Linked DNA regions of Homo sapiens: region 1 is linked to region 2. The links are contacts of gene promoters, found by promoter capture Hi-C in blood cells and fetal thymus (Javierre and others, 2016). All regions are on one chromosome and are shown on one strand. The core of a region is centred on a gene start or on the middle of the fragment in contact, and the rest is flanking DNA. Distances in the headings are between cores, read along the strand shown. Region 1 overlaps LSM14B (LSM family member 14B). Region 2 holds the start of ADRM1 (ADRM1 26S proteasome ubiquitin receptor).

Region 1 (7,055 bases), core at 659-3,158, 170 kb after region 2:
GGCTAGGATAGATGGAACAAGTTCCCTGGAATGTGATGCTTCTGCTTTGGGAGTTTGAAAGACAGGGATACAGCATGGACACTCATGCCACCCAAACAAGCTGCTGGTGGGAGACTATCTCCCACATCCAACTGTGCACCCAGCACTCCCACCCAGCACTCCTACCGACGCAGACAACAGCTCCAGCAGCACACCCACCCTGAGCTCCTCTTCAGCCGGAAACCTGCTGCTCCCACAGACTTCCGTGTTCAAAGAAACAGCAACTCCACCCATCAGCCGCCCAGGCCAAAAGACTTAGGAGTCATTCTGGACTCTTCTCTTGTCATGTTGGCCAATTCTGTTAGCGCCACCTTCAAGACACATTTAGACTCTACTCCTTCCCTCTGTCACCACCACTGCCTGGTTCCAAGCCACCTGTGCTGCAGCACTGGCCCCTAACTGGCCAGTCAGCAGCCACACTTGCCCACCGTCCAACCACTCTCACCAAGGACGCCGTAAAACATCAGACCGCACCACGCTTCAGCACAAAACCCTCTGATGGCTTCCCGCGGCACTTGGAACAAAAGCCAAAGTCACTGCCATGCCCTACAAAACCCTACAGGAACCCATCCCCCAGACTCGGCCTGTCTGGAAGCACTTCCCGCACTCATCTGCGCAGCCTGCTCTGCCTGTGAGAACTGATCATCCACTTCCCATCGAGTTACAGCCCCATCCCATCGCCCTCACTGCCTGGCCTTCACGACATGCTGTTCTATTTTTCCCCTGGCAGAACATGAACCTGAAGAGGTGGCGCTCTCCAGCCTGCCTTCTGAGGCCCCCTCAACGCCCCGCGGCATGTCTGGCGCTCAATCTGCAGGACAAATGGGCCCAAGTTTCCAAGCCAGGCCCACACTGTAGATGCCACCCACTCCCTAGGGTGCTTCGCGGGACTTCTGACCAGCTGTTAGGTGTGAAAAATAAAACACACCACATGGTCCCTGGCCTCAAACAATGAAGTGAAGGAAAGCCAGTGTGAGCACGTTCTAGCCATACCTCAGGCTGCTAAGCAAGGACCTCAGGCTGCCAGGCCAGCGGGACCAGCAAGCAGAGCACCGTGAGGTATGCTGAATGTGGACACGGGTCTGCCGGGGGGGGCGGTGCAGCCCAGCCTTTGTGGGGACAGGGCAGCAAAGCCAAGAGGAAACAGGCTCGACCTCAGCCAACTCCTCGGGTCGGGATCCCCAAGAGGCTTCCCACACGCAACCTGCTGGGACTCCGGCACCCATCATGCAGAAACGCAAGCAGGACCCTAGAACAGCTACCCTGAGCCTCAGAGTCCAGCTCTGCCCTCAGGTTGAGAGCCCTCAGCCCTGTCCTTTCTAGATTGGAGGACTGTCCTCCCCTCATTCATTCAGCCTCTCACCTGGTCTTGAGTTCAGAAGAGATGTTGTCGAAGAACGACTTGGATTTGTCATAGTAGCAGTTGGGCCCCAGAAGGTCTTCCTCAGCGGGCGCTTCGGCACTCTGGGTCACCACAGCCAGGTCCTTCTCTTCCCCCTTCTCAGCCTTGTCATCTACAAAAAGAAGCAGAACACGTGGAGATGGAGGAGGGGCAGAGCGCACAGCCTTTTAGCAGGGTGGTCCCTCCGGGCTCACTCGGAAGCCACCCTCAAGCTAAGACATCAACTATGCCTTGTGCAAAGCAGAAATCTCTTCTTCTACCTTCTAAGTACAGGTCTCGTTCTGCCGTCTGGGCTGTGCAGTCTGCACCTTATCCCACCCATTTTCACACCTCCCAGCACCTCACTTCATTAATTCCTCACTGCCGGTCACCATCCGCCTGGCATCCCCGGTTCCTCTAGGCATCTCTTCCTTTTCCTTGAGACAGAGTCTTGCTCTATCGCCCGGCTGGAGTGCAGTGGCGCAATCTTGGCTCACTCCCACTGCAACCTCCACCTCCTGGGTTCAAACGATTCTCCTGTCTCAGTCTCCCGAGTAGCTGGGATTACAGGCGCCCACCACCACGCCTGGCTAATTTTTGGATTTTTAGTACAGATGGGGTTTCATTGTGTTGGCCAGGCTGGTGTTGAACTCCTGACCTCAGGTGATCCACCCACCTCAGCCTCCCAAAGTGCTGAGATTACAGGCGTGAACCACCACACCCGGCCAGGCATCTCCTCCTAACACTCTCTAGGGGTACTCCTGTGCAGAGAATAATTTTCATATAATGAGCCAAACCTTTAAAATTCAGTTTCTTCTTAAATTCTTTGTCAAGCTCCTCTCGGTTGAACTGGGCATTTGCACTCTCGAAATCAAAGTCACCCTCAAATTTGATTGTGTTTTCCTTAACGTTAGTTGGACGGTTTTGCCCTCTGGAGCGATTCCTTGTTCGCCTGTTTCCTGTGAGGACAAAGGACAGCCCTGGCTGAAGTAGGTCACCAACCCAGTGATCTCAAACACCTCACAAGGAATTTCCAGGCACACCCCCAAGGCCACAGAAGGAACAGAGCACACAAGCAGCGACTTCACACCAGCACCCCTGAAACCGTCAACCAGAGAAGCAGGCAGGAGGGCAAGCAGAGCTCAGCCTGATCACTCGTGGTCCCCAGAAATCAAGTGGCAACAGGTGTTACCTGATCGCCTCCTCTGAGGTCTTCTGTTCTCGTCATTCACCTGCCCTTGAGCTTGCACAGCTGCCGGCTGGACTACATCTACGGCGCAAAAGGGAAGAGTAAGGCAAAGCTCCTATAGCAGCCGGAAGCCAGAACCCAGCTGTGGAAGCAGGCCCCACCACCATGGGGCACGCGGCCAGGGCGGCACCGCAGGAGGCTGCTGCACAGGCCTGCCCTGCAAAAGCACATGGGGCTTAGGATGGGGGAGTAGTATTTTTTTAATTAAAAAAAAAAAAATAGCCCAGGAAGTAGTGTGCCACTTTTAGAACATCAAGCAAACTCCAGGAAATGATGTGTTCAAGTACCGCTGGCCGTCTTGCTGCTCGGCTGGGCCTGACGACCGTTGAGCTGCGTCCCTGTGGTGCCCTTGCCAGGTAACAGCTTTTTAGCATTCAGGTTGTCAGCAGAACCAGTCTGCACAGCCTGCTCCACCATGGGGCTCTTGCCGACTGGGATGGATGGAAAACCAGCTCCTGAATTGAGGAGGGGAGGAGGGTTTAAAAACAGAGAGAAAAGAAGCAAGCCTTATATCTCCAGGCATTTCTCTTCTGCTGGCATGTCAGGAAGGAAAGGAGGGCAACTGCCTAGATGTTCTATCAAATCCAGGCAAAGCACCCCCAGACTGGGCCATTCCCTCTGAGGCTAGCCCAGGCAGCAAAAGAAGGCCAAGAGTCACTGGGCAGCACCAAGGCCAGTTCATCTTTGGACTCCCCACTCCCAAAGCCCTGAGCTTCCCAAGTTAGGGAACCTCAAGGACAGGAAAAACACCGTGCCTACAAACAGGCACCTCCCCAGAAGTGTGGAAACAGCTTTCTTAAAACCACACAAGCTCCAATCCCAAAGGAGCTCAGCAGCCCCAAGATCCTGATGAATTCAGGATCTGAGAATTTGTTTCATTCTGGTCCACACTGGAGAAGAACCAGCCCAGCCTGGGATTTTCTAGAAAATGCAGTGAACAAATTCTGAAGTTAAATTCTACAACACTGTCATTTCCACTTAAGGCACAATAAAACTAAAAATGATGAAGCAGGAGCTGACTTCCGAGACGTAGCAGCCTACACTTCTCTCAAGGGCAAAGGCTCATCATGAAGACACAAAGGGCTCCTAGGTAGCCTTTGGCAAGGGGCTATGCCTATGAAACTGCAGTCCGAGGCCCACGCACAGGGGATGAACCCTCAGAAACCAGGCCCTCTGAATCAGGAGGAAAATGGGAAGCACCACCCACCTCTCTCCATCTCCTCCCTTTCCAAGGTTCCAGGACCTGTAGGGACTCTAAACAGGACAATGTGGGACTGGGTGTAAGTGAACAGAGATCTGAAACAGAAAAGGCACCCTAACCACAGGGTAATTATTATTAGACGAACAGCCCAATACACATGAAGACTGGGCATCTCATCTTACTGCTTTTACGGAATAGAAATGAAAAAAAAAATTGACTGTAGAAAAATTCCTTGTAACCAGATCAAGAGAAGCTCTCAAAGGGCAGGTTGGAACGACTCTGCATAGAGGTCTGGAAAGTGTCCTCTGGCGGGAATGCACCCGGGCCACTTTCTCACTGATTGTCTCACTCAGCATGTCCGGGAGACAAACACAGCACTGCCTGCCTGCTGATCATACTGTGACTGCAGGGGCATGGATAAGGGGCTTGTCTGCTTTTTACACAACCAACTAGTTCAAACAAAGTCTTGCCCTATGAGCAGGTTTAGGTAACTGATCCTAAGAGCAATAGAAGTATCTGTGTCATTTTTAAGTGGGGGAAAAAAAAAGACTACTCTGTAACTCAGATACACAGAGTGCATGCAGGATTTGGAAAGCAGCACCTGCAGAATGACAGACTGACAGCAGCTGTGTGCCATAAGGAAAGCCCAGGCATCAACCTGGACCAGGGCCGGGTAATGGCGATGGTTCAGCTTGTCAGGGTGCTATGTGTAACACAAACATACAGCAAGATCGTCAATATGAATTTTAGAACTTCAGGGGAAATGAGTAGAACGTGAGAAAAGATCTAGAAACCCCACAGGTGCCGCCACCACCACAGCACAGAGACAGGTGGTGTACACTGGCCAGCTGGCCATCAGGCTGATACTGTCCACCTGGCCAAACAGTTGGCGACTGTCACCCAAGCCCCTAATTTTGAATCCCCTCAATGAGTGATCTATGAACCACACGGATCAAAGAGCAAAACAGGCATGTCAGGTGCTTTGGGGAGTCCCCCCTGCAGCACTCTGGAACACATTTAGGACCCAGCAAAAACCCCAGGGAAATGACTTTCTGTGAACAGTGAAGTTTCCCGTATGTGGTAGTCATGGTACAGGTCAACAGAGAACCTGGACCCAGGGAGAGAGAACAAACTACTCCGCTGATTCTTCGTAATCCCTTCTTTAACACTGAGAGTTCATCAATCAGGACTACATGCTGAAGCAAAACAAGCAGCTCAGCGGCTGCATGGGCTTGGCAAATGATCTGCTACAGCTACTGTCATTCTGTCTGCTGCTTTACCCCTCGCTCTCAGAATGGTTTGCAAGACAGCATGCAGTTCTCCCAAACTGCTGTTACCCTTGGCAGTGAGCTGCTGTGGCTCTGAGGACAAGTCAAGCTCTGAAACGGGCTGTGGAGATGGAGAAGAGCTAGGGCTGGAAGCAGCGGCTGAGGCTGGAGGGCTTACCAACTTCTCTAAAGGAAGATAAAGGAGAAAGAGCAAAAAGAAAGCACACAAATAAGTCAGGATACACTTGTCTTGTGTCTAGCAAGCTTGGAAAGAGCCAAGCAACCTCTTGTAGGATTCTGTCATACAAACACGTTTTAGAAACCCAGAGAGCTGGGCTGGGAAGGCCGCCTGTCACACTAGGAATAGCAACCAAGCAAGCATGATTTGTAGCAGCAAGTGGCCTACAGACCTCGTTTAGGGTTCCCTGTCTCACTACTTCATGCTGGATTCTGAGCAAGGGTCGTGGATCACCTGCCAATTCTACACTCTGAGCCCATCTGCAAAGCTAGGTCCAGGTTAAGGACAAGGCAGGATCTTTCTCTACATATGGAGAATAGAATCATACTCTGGGGTTTTTCAATCTTGGTTGAAACCATTTTTGAGCGAGGCACTTACAGTAGAATAAGGGACATGATGGGTGGGTTTGTATTTCACGTCTATATTTACAGGCTTATAAATGTGCAAACAGCTAGACTTCATCTGTAATACTACATATATATCAGCTATTTCTTCTTTGAAGCAGATATACCAGGACTTCCACCTATTTATTTTTTGAGACAGAGTCTCACTGTGCCGCTCAGGCTAGAGTGCAGTGGTGCAATCTCAGTTCACTGCAACCTCTGCCTCCCAGGTTTAAGCAATTCTCATGCCTCAACCCCCCAAGTAGCTGGGATTACAGGTGTGTCCCACCACACCCAGCTAATTTTTGTATTTCTAGTAGAGACAGGATTTCCCCATGTTGGCCAGGCTGGTCTCGAACTCCTGACCTTGTGATCCACCCGCCTTGGCCTCCTAAAGTGCTGGGATTACAGGAGTGAGCCACTATGCCTGGCCCAGGACTTCCACCTAGATCCGCCCTGACTCTTCGAATGAATTTTGATTTGATTCTTCTGTTCCAACACTCAGGCTGCTGCCTCTTTTACTTTCAGTTGAGTAGTTACTAAATGCTCTCACAAGCGGAAGTTGCACTGGGTAATTTACTAAGTGTGCAACAAAACAGTCTACAAGCTGAGCATGACAGGAATGCATATCCCCACCCTCAGGCTCCATCGCTCCACTCAGTGACAGTTACACGCAAGGGTAGTTTACCAGACAGAAACAGGTCACTCACCTAGACCCAGGGAGGCGGCATACTGCTGGCTGAGCAGGGAGCTGGCCGCCAGCGGGCCGTAGGGCGCCATCCCTCGGAAAGGGCTGTAAGGCACGTGCGGCTGGAAGGGCGAGGCGGAGGCAGAACCCAGGGAAGACTGAACAACGAGACATCGGGTGAGAACGGCGAAGGCCATCCCATCACCCCGCACGCCTTCATCAGGGCGCTTGTTCAGCTGGGAAACAAGCACCGTCCCATCAGCCTGCACCCTTGAGATGCTGGAGGAGCCCTTGGGGTGCAAGTTTCCAGTATGGTGAGAGCTGCCTTTTCCACAGCATTTCAGTTCCAGTTTCACCTGTCCATGTAATTCCTTTTTTTGTTTTGTTTTGTTTTTTGTTTTTTGAAAGAGTATTGCTCTGTCGCCTGGGCTGGAGTGCAATGGCGTGATCTCAGCTCACTGCAACCTCTGCCTCCCAGGTTCAAGCGATTCTCCCAGCCTCAGCCTCCCGAGTAGCTGAGATTACAGATGCCCACCACCACACCCAGCTAATTTTTGTATTTTTGGTAGAGACGCGGTTTTGCTATGTTGGCCAAGCTGGTCTTGAAC
Region 2 (7,691 bases), core at 89-2,588:
CCTCGCTGGCAGGGTCTCCACAAGGCAGAGAAGCCAGGGTCAGAGACAGCCCATGAAAGGCAAGGCCGGGGGAGAGAGCAGGGAAAGGGGCCTTTCAGATGGCAACGGGGTTTCTGAGACGTGCTGGAAACAACATTCCCAGAGTAGTTAAAAAGTCAACGCTGAACTGCTCTCAAATGTAACAAAGAACAACTAAGAGTTTGAAAAACAAAGAAGACTGAGTGAAGCCGCCAGGCACAGAGCTCCAGGCTCTCCAGGGCCACACCTCCAACCCCAGGCACCTCACACGGACAGTTCAAGGCCAGGCACAGAGCTCCGGGCTCTCCAGGGCCACACCTCCAACCCAGGCACCTCACACGGACAGTTCAAGATACACAGTGGCCGAGATGCCCCTGTCACCGCGGAAACCAGGACGACCCATCAGCAGGGCAGTCGATGACGGCCCCACGAGCGGTCCCCAGATGCGGCCAAGCCCCCACCGCGAACTCCAAAGCGAGGACTCCGAGGGCCCGAGAAGTCGCCTGTCCTGCTGCTGCGGCTCAGGGACACTCACGTCTTCCACGTTCCCGGACGTCCTGTCCTTCCAGCAGAAGTGAATAAGCGAGTCGTCCGTCTGCTGAATGTACACCAGCCCTTTCCGCTTATCCGGAGTCACGGTGGTCCCCTTCAGGGACATCTTTCCCGCCCGAAACTCCACCAAGTACTTGTTGGAGGCGCCCCGAGAGCCTGGCACCAGGCTTGGAAAGAGCGCGCCTGAGGTCGTCATCCTGAAAGCGCGGAGAGGACGCTGAGACGCGGCGGTCACTGTCGCCTGCGGTCCGGCAAGCTCCCGCCCCCTGGGGTGTTTGCGAGCAGGGGGCCTGCGCCCAGAGCTGCCTAAGGCAGACTCAGACACGCCGGGCTGCCTTTCCGCGTTTGCCCCGCTCACGACGATCGCACCGCCCGCACTCGGCGCTGGGCCGGGGCAGCCCCGCCAAGCCTAGTGGGGCCGGCCCTAGGCTTGACGCCGTCTCCGCGGGGCACCAGCCTCGACGCGCCACCCCGGCGACCCGCTCCGCGGGGCAGACCCGCCCGAGCTCCCGCCGAGCCCCACGTTCAGAGCCGCAGGCGGAACCGGGGCGGCGCCCGAGACCCCAGAACCCCCGCCCGGCCCGGCCCCCGCAGGCCCCACCCGCCGCGCCGGCCACCTTCTCGTCTTGGCTGCCCCCGCCCCATCCTTGGTCCAGCAGCCCCTGCCCCCGCCTCCGGTCGCCCCCGGCCGCCCCAGGCCCGGCGACTCCCGCACCTGCCTCGCGCCCACACTCGTTCGAGAGGCGCCGTCCGGGCTCGCTCTTCCTCCTCGGCGCCTGCCGGGCCCCGCCGGAAACCCGCGTTCGGCCCGCCCCGCCTGCCGCTCTCGCCGCCGATTGAGCCCCGTAAGCCGCGCAGCCGGCTCTAACCTGCCAACGATTGGCGAGGGCGACCGTCCATCGCACTCGCTCCTCCCCGGTCCGCCCCCGCGCCGGCGGCTCTTTTCCGGCGGAAGCGCGGGCCGCAGGGCGCTTGGACCAGAGCGGCCCCTATTGTTGCTGTGTCATAGGGGAGCGGCGGCGGCCCCTAGAGGCGGCGCCAGGGACCACAGGCGGGTTTCAGAGGGGCGCTGGGGAACTGCTCAGGTGGGGCCGAGCCCACCCCTCGGCGTCGCCCGCCCGGGCGGGCAGAGCTGTCACTCGTGTGGCTGAGCCAGGGGTTAGGCGGAGGCCGAGGAGTGCGGTCCGGCTGTGGGCGGCGGGCACCAGGGCTACGCATAGAAGTGACCATGGGTTCAGCGCTTTGGGGACCCAGGCGGGAGCTGGAGTCCACGCGTCCGGGAGAGCAGGGGTCCGGGAGGGTAGAGCGAGGGTGAGAACCGTGATATGGTCTCAGCTGTATACATCTAGTCCCGCAGGGGTCCGGGAGGGCAGGGGTCAGGAAGGGGTGGGTCCGGGAGGAGAGGGGTCCCGAGAGGGGAGGGGCTCCTGGAGGGGAGGGATCTGGGAGGGGTGAGTCCGGGAGGGGAGGGGTTCCCGGAGGGGAGGGGGCCCGGGAGGGGAGAGGGTCCCGGAGGGGAGGGATCTGGGAGGGGTGAGTCCGGGAGGGAGGAGTCAGGGAAGGCCTGAGTCCCAGACGGGTAGGGTCCTGGAAGGGAGGGGTCCTGGAGGGCAGGGGCTCACCCTCTGGACGCCTGGATGGGAAAGGCCACAGGGTAAAAAGGCGGCAGTCGCCCGCCAGTGTTGTGTAACTTTGAGTCACTTTGACACAAACTAAAGCGAAGACAACAGATAGTGTTTGTGGCGCCCCAGCCGGCTGCTGAAGGGACACGTTCTTTGGGATTTGCCTACAGCGACGCCAGGCGGGGGCTCTTAGAGGGCTCAGGCGCGGTGGCTCACGCCTGTAAACCCAGAACTTTGGGAGGCCGAGGCGGGCGGATTACTTGAGGCCAGGAGTTCAAGACCAGCCTGGGCAACATGGTGAATGAAACCCCGACTCTACTAAAAATGCAAAAATTAGCCAGGTATGCTGGCACATGCCTGTAATTCCATCTACTCAGGAGGCTGATGCACGAGAATCGCCTGAACCCGGGAGGTGGAGGTTGCAGTGAGCCGAGATTGCACCACTGCACTCCAGCCTGGGCGACAGAGGAAGACTCCTTCTCAAAAAAAAAAAATAATAATAATAATAGTAATAAAATAGAGAGGTCAGGCGCTTCGTGAGAACCCTGAGGTGCAGTGGCCTCTGCACCCCAGTTAAGCAAGACTAGATGTTTGCAGCTGAGACTGTGCCAGGGTCCTCAGGTTCTCCTTTGCCCATCGCTCACTTCCTTCTTTCCTTCAGATACTTCACTCCCTTCGGGCGCTCCCCGGGGTCACCGTGTGCTTGGTGGCTCACCCTCAGAGTGGATGCACAGCTGTGTGCTTACGTGCTCTCTGAGGTCTTTAGGTGTGTGTTTTCACTCACCCTTGTTGGGAGATGCGTTGGTGTTGATGCTGGCAGCTCCAGTCCTTTCATTCTGCAGGGAGCCTACTACTCAGGCCTCCATTGTCTCGGTGGCAGAGCTTGTGCCAGTTATGTTTAGTTGCCAGCTTTTGACTGTCATAATGCTTCCATTTGAAACATTGATTGAGCTAAAGATTCACGTTTTTTGTTTTGGAAAATGTAGCCACTTTTCATTTTAAAATGTGTGTTAACAGGTAGTAAGTTTGTTATTGTTATTTTTATGTAGCTAAATAATTTTAAATGTCCTCTTAATTCCTAGTATGGTAAATGTCAATAGATAAAGCTCACATAAACAAAAGCTCTTTGGGGTCCTGTATAATTTTTAAGAATTTAAACGGTTCCAGAAGCTAAAGGGCTTGAGAGGGGCTAACACAAAGCTCTGTGGCCCGCTGGTGACAGGTGCGTCACTGATACTGCAGCCCCATCCTCGTGCCCTCGTGTAAAACAGGGAAAAGGTGGAAATGAGAAAACCCAGCCTGGCTTTCCCGGCAAGAAGGTGGCAAGCGTCACTTGTTTATGTCACAGACAGTAAAGCAGAAGCCCCAGGGTCCGCAGGGGCCAAGTGTGCAGAGGCCAACGCAGTGGCCAAGAGGACCCTGGATTTACCATTTCCTCCACTTCCTGGAGGCCCTGTGGCCTGGGATGGCTCAAACAACCCCAGAACTCTTTACCCACACTTCAAGCGAAACTCCCACATTCCTATGAGCATGCTGCAGTGAGGAAACGAGCCGCAGCCAGGCAGGCTTTGCAGAGGCCACTGTGGGTGCCCGCTGCCAGCCCACGGGCTCTATGCGTGTGTGGGGTATGGCACCTGGAGCACCCAGCAGCCCAGGACTCCAGCTGTGGCCACAGAGTGGGTGGGGGGGCACACGCTGCTTTGTGTCAGGAATCTCGGACTTGAAGCACACACAAGGTCAGAAGGGCTGTGTGACATGTGCAGCTGTCCCTATCTTCTAATTGGTCGCTGATGGCAGTTGGTGGGACGTCTGCAAAATGCCCGCAGCATCTAGAGGAGCAGCCTCACCGGGACACGCGCATTCAGCTAAAGGATTTGGACTAAGAGATCCCCCAAAAGAGATTTCTATTCATCCTGTTTAGCAAAAAAAAAACAACCCCAGACTTGCATGATGGCTCACACCTGCAATCCCAGCACTTTGGGAGGCCGAGCTGAGAGGGTCCCTTGAAGCCCAGGAGTTCCAAGACCAGCTTAATCAAGACAGTGAGACCCTGTCTTTAGAAAAAGACAAATTAAAAAAGAGCCAGCCATGGCGGTGCATGCCTGTAGTCTCAGCTACTTGGGAGGCTGAGGTGAAGGTCAAGGCTGGCGGTGAGCCGTGATGGCACCACTGCACTGCAGCCTGGGTGACAGAGCGAGACCCTGTCTCAAAAAAGCCCCAAACTGTAAAGAAAGCACACCCTGATGCTCTCCACGTGCTGCAGGCTCCTCGGGTGAAAGGTGGGCGGCAGAGCCCAGGCTGCGCCTCCACGTGGGCAGAAGACACCTCCGGATGTTTCACCAAAGAGGTCACAGGCAGCAAAGGCACCATGGCAAGCTGCTCAACACCATTATTCATGAGGGAAATGCAAATGAAATACACCTGCTGGAACTTAGCAAACGATGGAAGGTGCCAGGCAAAGTTGGAAACACCAATGGCACGGCTACTTCGGAAAAGCATTTGGCAGGGGTAGGGTTTTTTAAACTTTTTTTTTTTTTTTTTTTTTTTTGAGATGGAATCTCACTCTATCCCATAGGCTGGAGTGCAGTGGCTTGATCTCAGCTCATTGCAGCCCCCGCCTCCTGAGTTCAAGCAGTTCTCCTACCTCAGCCTCCTGAGTAGCTGGGATTACAGGCATGTGTCACCAGACCCGGTTAATTTTTGTATTTTTATTAGAGACAGGGTTTCACCATGTGGGCCAGGTTGGTCTCGAACTCCTGAGCTTGAGCGATCCACCCGCCTCAACCTCCCAAAGGCTGGGATTACAGGTGTGAGCCACTGCACCTTGTGGGTTTTTTTTTTTTTTAACATTTTAAAAATAGACAAGTCACAACTGAGTGGAAGGCAGAGAGTTCTGGTCCCCCTGGGTGTTCGGTGAGCTACGCCGCCACCGGGTCAGCGCCCAGAGCCCGCCATTCGCGTCGAGGTCCACGTCGGTCCATCTGTGCTGCCACCACTGACCAGGCAGTTTACAAAGAAGCGAAACGTACTTTCTCACAGTTCTGCAGGTCCGGAAGTCAGCGTCAGTGGGGCGGCAGGCCTGGTTGTCTGGTGAGCGCTGTCCTCACCTGGCGTGGCACTGATGCTCTGTGGGGCAGACCAGGCAGTGTGGGAGGAGCCTCTGGCTCCGGGCTCAGGCAATGGTGGTGGAGCCCCACAGCCAAACCCCTGGAGCATTCCGAGAGCATGGACGTCTTGTGGACCGTGTGTCCCTCTGCCCCAGCCACACTGACCACTGGGACGACTGAGTCTGCTCAGCTTACGCTCCTGAAAAGCACGAAGGTGCTGGGGCAACTTACGGCAGAAGGCAGGCAGCTGAAACCTGGGGCACCGGGCCCTTCGCTGCTTCTAGCAGTAGCGTCCCCCCGCCAGGGGAGGGGGGTCCATCAGAGCCTCCTGCTGCTTGGAGAACCTGGGTGCTCCACCCATCACATGTGCCGCCCGACAGGTGTCACGAGTGTCCCCCAGCCCCCTCTCCACAGGGCAGTTTTTGGAAATGAGCCATTTGCTTGGCCAATCCTCAGGAACACGCGGTCCAAACTTCTGATAACCAGGCATGAGGACTCATCCTTAGCAGATTTGTAGCCCTTTTCAAAATGGCCAGAGCGGCTGAGATGGTGAAAAATTGCTCAGTGTAAAACAAAGGTCACCTGCTGCCCATCTTCAGAGAATCTTCATTCAAATCTTAGAGGTTAACATTTATTTTCACAGATGTGTACACAGCCCTCTGAAAAATCTGAGGATGACTGTGTTAATGCAGTTTGGCACTGACAGTTGTTAAATATTATAAAATAAGTGCGTTCTGCTGGCATCTTTTCTCAGCTGCCATGTCCTTGCTGCCTGCTGGGATGAATGGCACTGGAGGAGGAGCTGGGTGAAGGCACGGGGAGGGGTGAGGGCCTGCAAGGTGTGGGCGACAGGAAAGCCCGGCTGCACACCATCGCCCTCTGCAGAGCCACCGTCGTGCTCCTAAACATCTGGCCACGGCAGCCTGGCTCCCAAAGCTCACCAAGCGAAGGACCGACTGTGAAGTGAACTTCGTACCCAGAGCTGGCAAATGTGGCTTTCGCCTCACAGAAATTTTACATCAGCCTGTAGAAGACGGTGAGGAACCATCTTTTGAGGGGTCCGAGGGAGACCCAGCTCCCGTGCTGCCTGGCAAGCAGCAGGAGCCACCGCCACGTTCTCGGCCACGGCAGGGGCCCCGTCTTTTGTGTCCACTTTACACACAGGCAAGTCCAGATGTGGCCATCAAAGAAAACTGGGACCATCAGGACTTCCTGCAGATGGATCGAACTCTCCTCTGGGGTCCAGCTGCGCCCCTCGTCCACATCTGTGCTGGCTGGAGGGTCAGGGCTCCACTCTGCCCGACAAGCAGTCTGGTGCAGGGGACGCAAATGTCACACCCAGCAGGGCCCGGCACTTGGAGACCTGAACTCTGTCGCCCAGCTCAGTGGGAAGCTCACCAGAACTCGTAACTGTCTTTGCTTTGTTTTCCTTCACGGAAATGACAAGGACCTGTAAAACTTGTAAATCCCCATTTCTGCTGGGGAGAAATTTTCCCCAAAGAGCAGGATGCCTTGTGAGGAGGCCTCCAGGCGTTTCTCTTGTCCTGTTCTAACCTCCTGACCTTGTGTTCAGATGTGCCTGGCAAACCGGGGCAGGTCCTTGGTGTTCAAGGCCAATGCCCCAGATGGACAGCTCCATGCTCAGACACGTGGACAGTGGGGTGCCCGGAGGCCACCAGGGTGGCATGTGGCACTTCTCCAAGTGCCGGGCCCTGCTGGGTCTGACATTTGCGTCCCCTGCACCAGACTGCTTGTCGGGCAGAGTGGAGCCCTGACCCTCCAGCCAGCACAGATGTGAGCTCTGGGGATGGCGTCTGGAAGGGGTGGTGGTGACCGGGAGCACCTGCAGGCACCACTCTTCCTGTACCGGCTTTCCCACTTGCCGCCGGAGGCTGGGAAACTCACGGTACACACAGGCACCTCCCCACGACCAAGGCATCTGGGCCGCTGGCTCGCTCTCCTCCCAGACAGCAGTCTCGGGAGGGTCTGGCTTCAGGACAGCCTGCACCAGCAAAATGCCGGATGTCCATCAGGGCTGGGGACCAGGGCCAGCTGTCCCCCACTTCCCACAACCCAAGCCTCGCCCGGTGAGAAGGCTGCAGGTGTTGGTGACACCCGACCCTTCACCGTCCTTGGACACTAGGGCAGGGCAGACGTCGCCACGTGGCCAGCGACTCAGATCCACACCGTCATCCCAGGTGAGCCTGGTGAGCAGCAGCATGTGCTATGTTGCCAACACGTGCTTTGCATGTGGCTCTCCGTGCTTTGCATATGGCTCTCCGGGAGGCATGCCTGTTCACCGTTCTGTCTCCAGCAGCTCACAATACATACACCCTGAACCAATGACCATAGAACCGAATTCTCATTTCAATTAGCAATAGAATCCAACCAA

The links. The method cuts DNA at HindIII sites, captures the fragments that hold promoters and counts their contacts. A CHiCAGO score of 5 or more calls a contact.
Region 1: a contact is called between a fragment that was not itself captured here and the fragment with the promoter of ADRM1 in region 2, in 1 of 17 cell types (neutrophils). The highest score is 5.8, in neutrophils.

Annotation. Positions count from the first base shown.
Region 1 is chr20:62,125,854-62,132,908 of GRCh38, reverse strand. It overlaps LSM14B (LSM family member 14B), which reads right to left. Exons shown (of 9, transcript NM_144703.3): 3 at 6,470-6,605; 4 at 2,957-3,124; 5 at 2,613-2,690; 6 at 2,218-2,379; 7 at 1,403-1,553. Among named protein-coding and RNA genes, the nearest start is that of LSM14B, 6.9 kb to the right of the region's middle. The HindIII fragment of the contact is 6,993 bases long and covers 1-5,404 here.
Region 2 is chr20:62,296,644-62,304,334 of GRCh38, reverse strand. ADRM1 (ADRM1 26S proteasome ubiquitin receptor) reads right to left here and starts at 1,338. Exons shown (of 10, transcript NM_007002.4): 1 at 1,286-1,338; 2 at 554-767. The coding sequence starts at 766. RefSeq lists silencers at 1,229-1,688, 1,709-1,828. The HindIII fragment of the contact is 19,122 bases long and covers 1-7,691 here.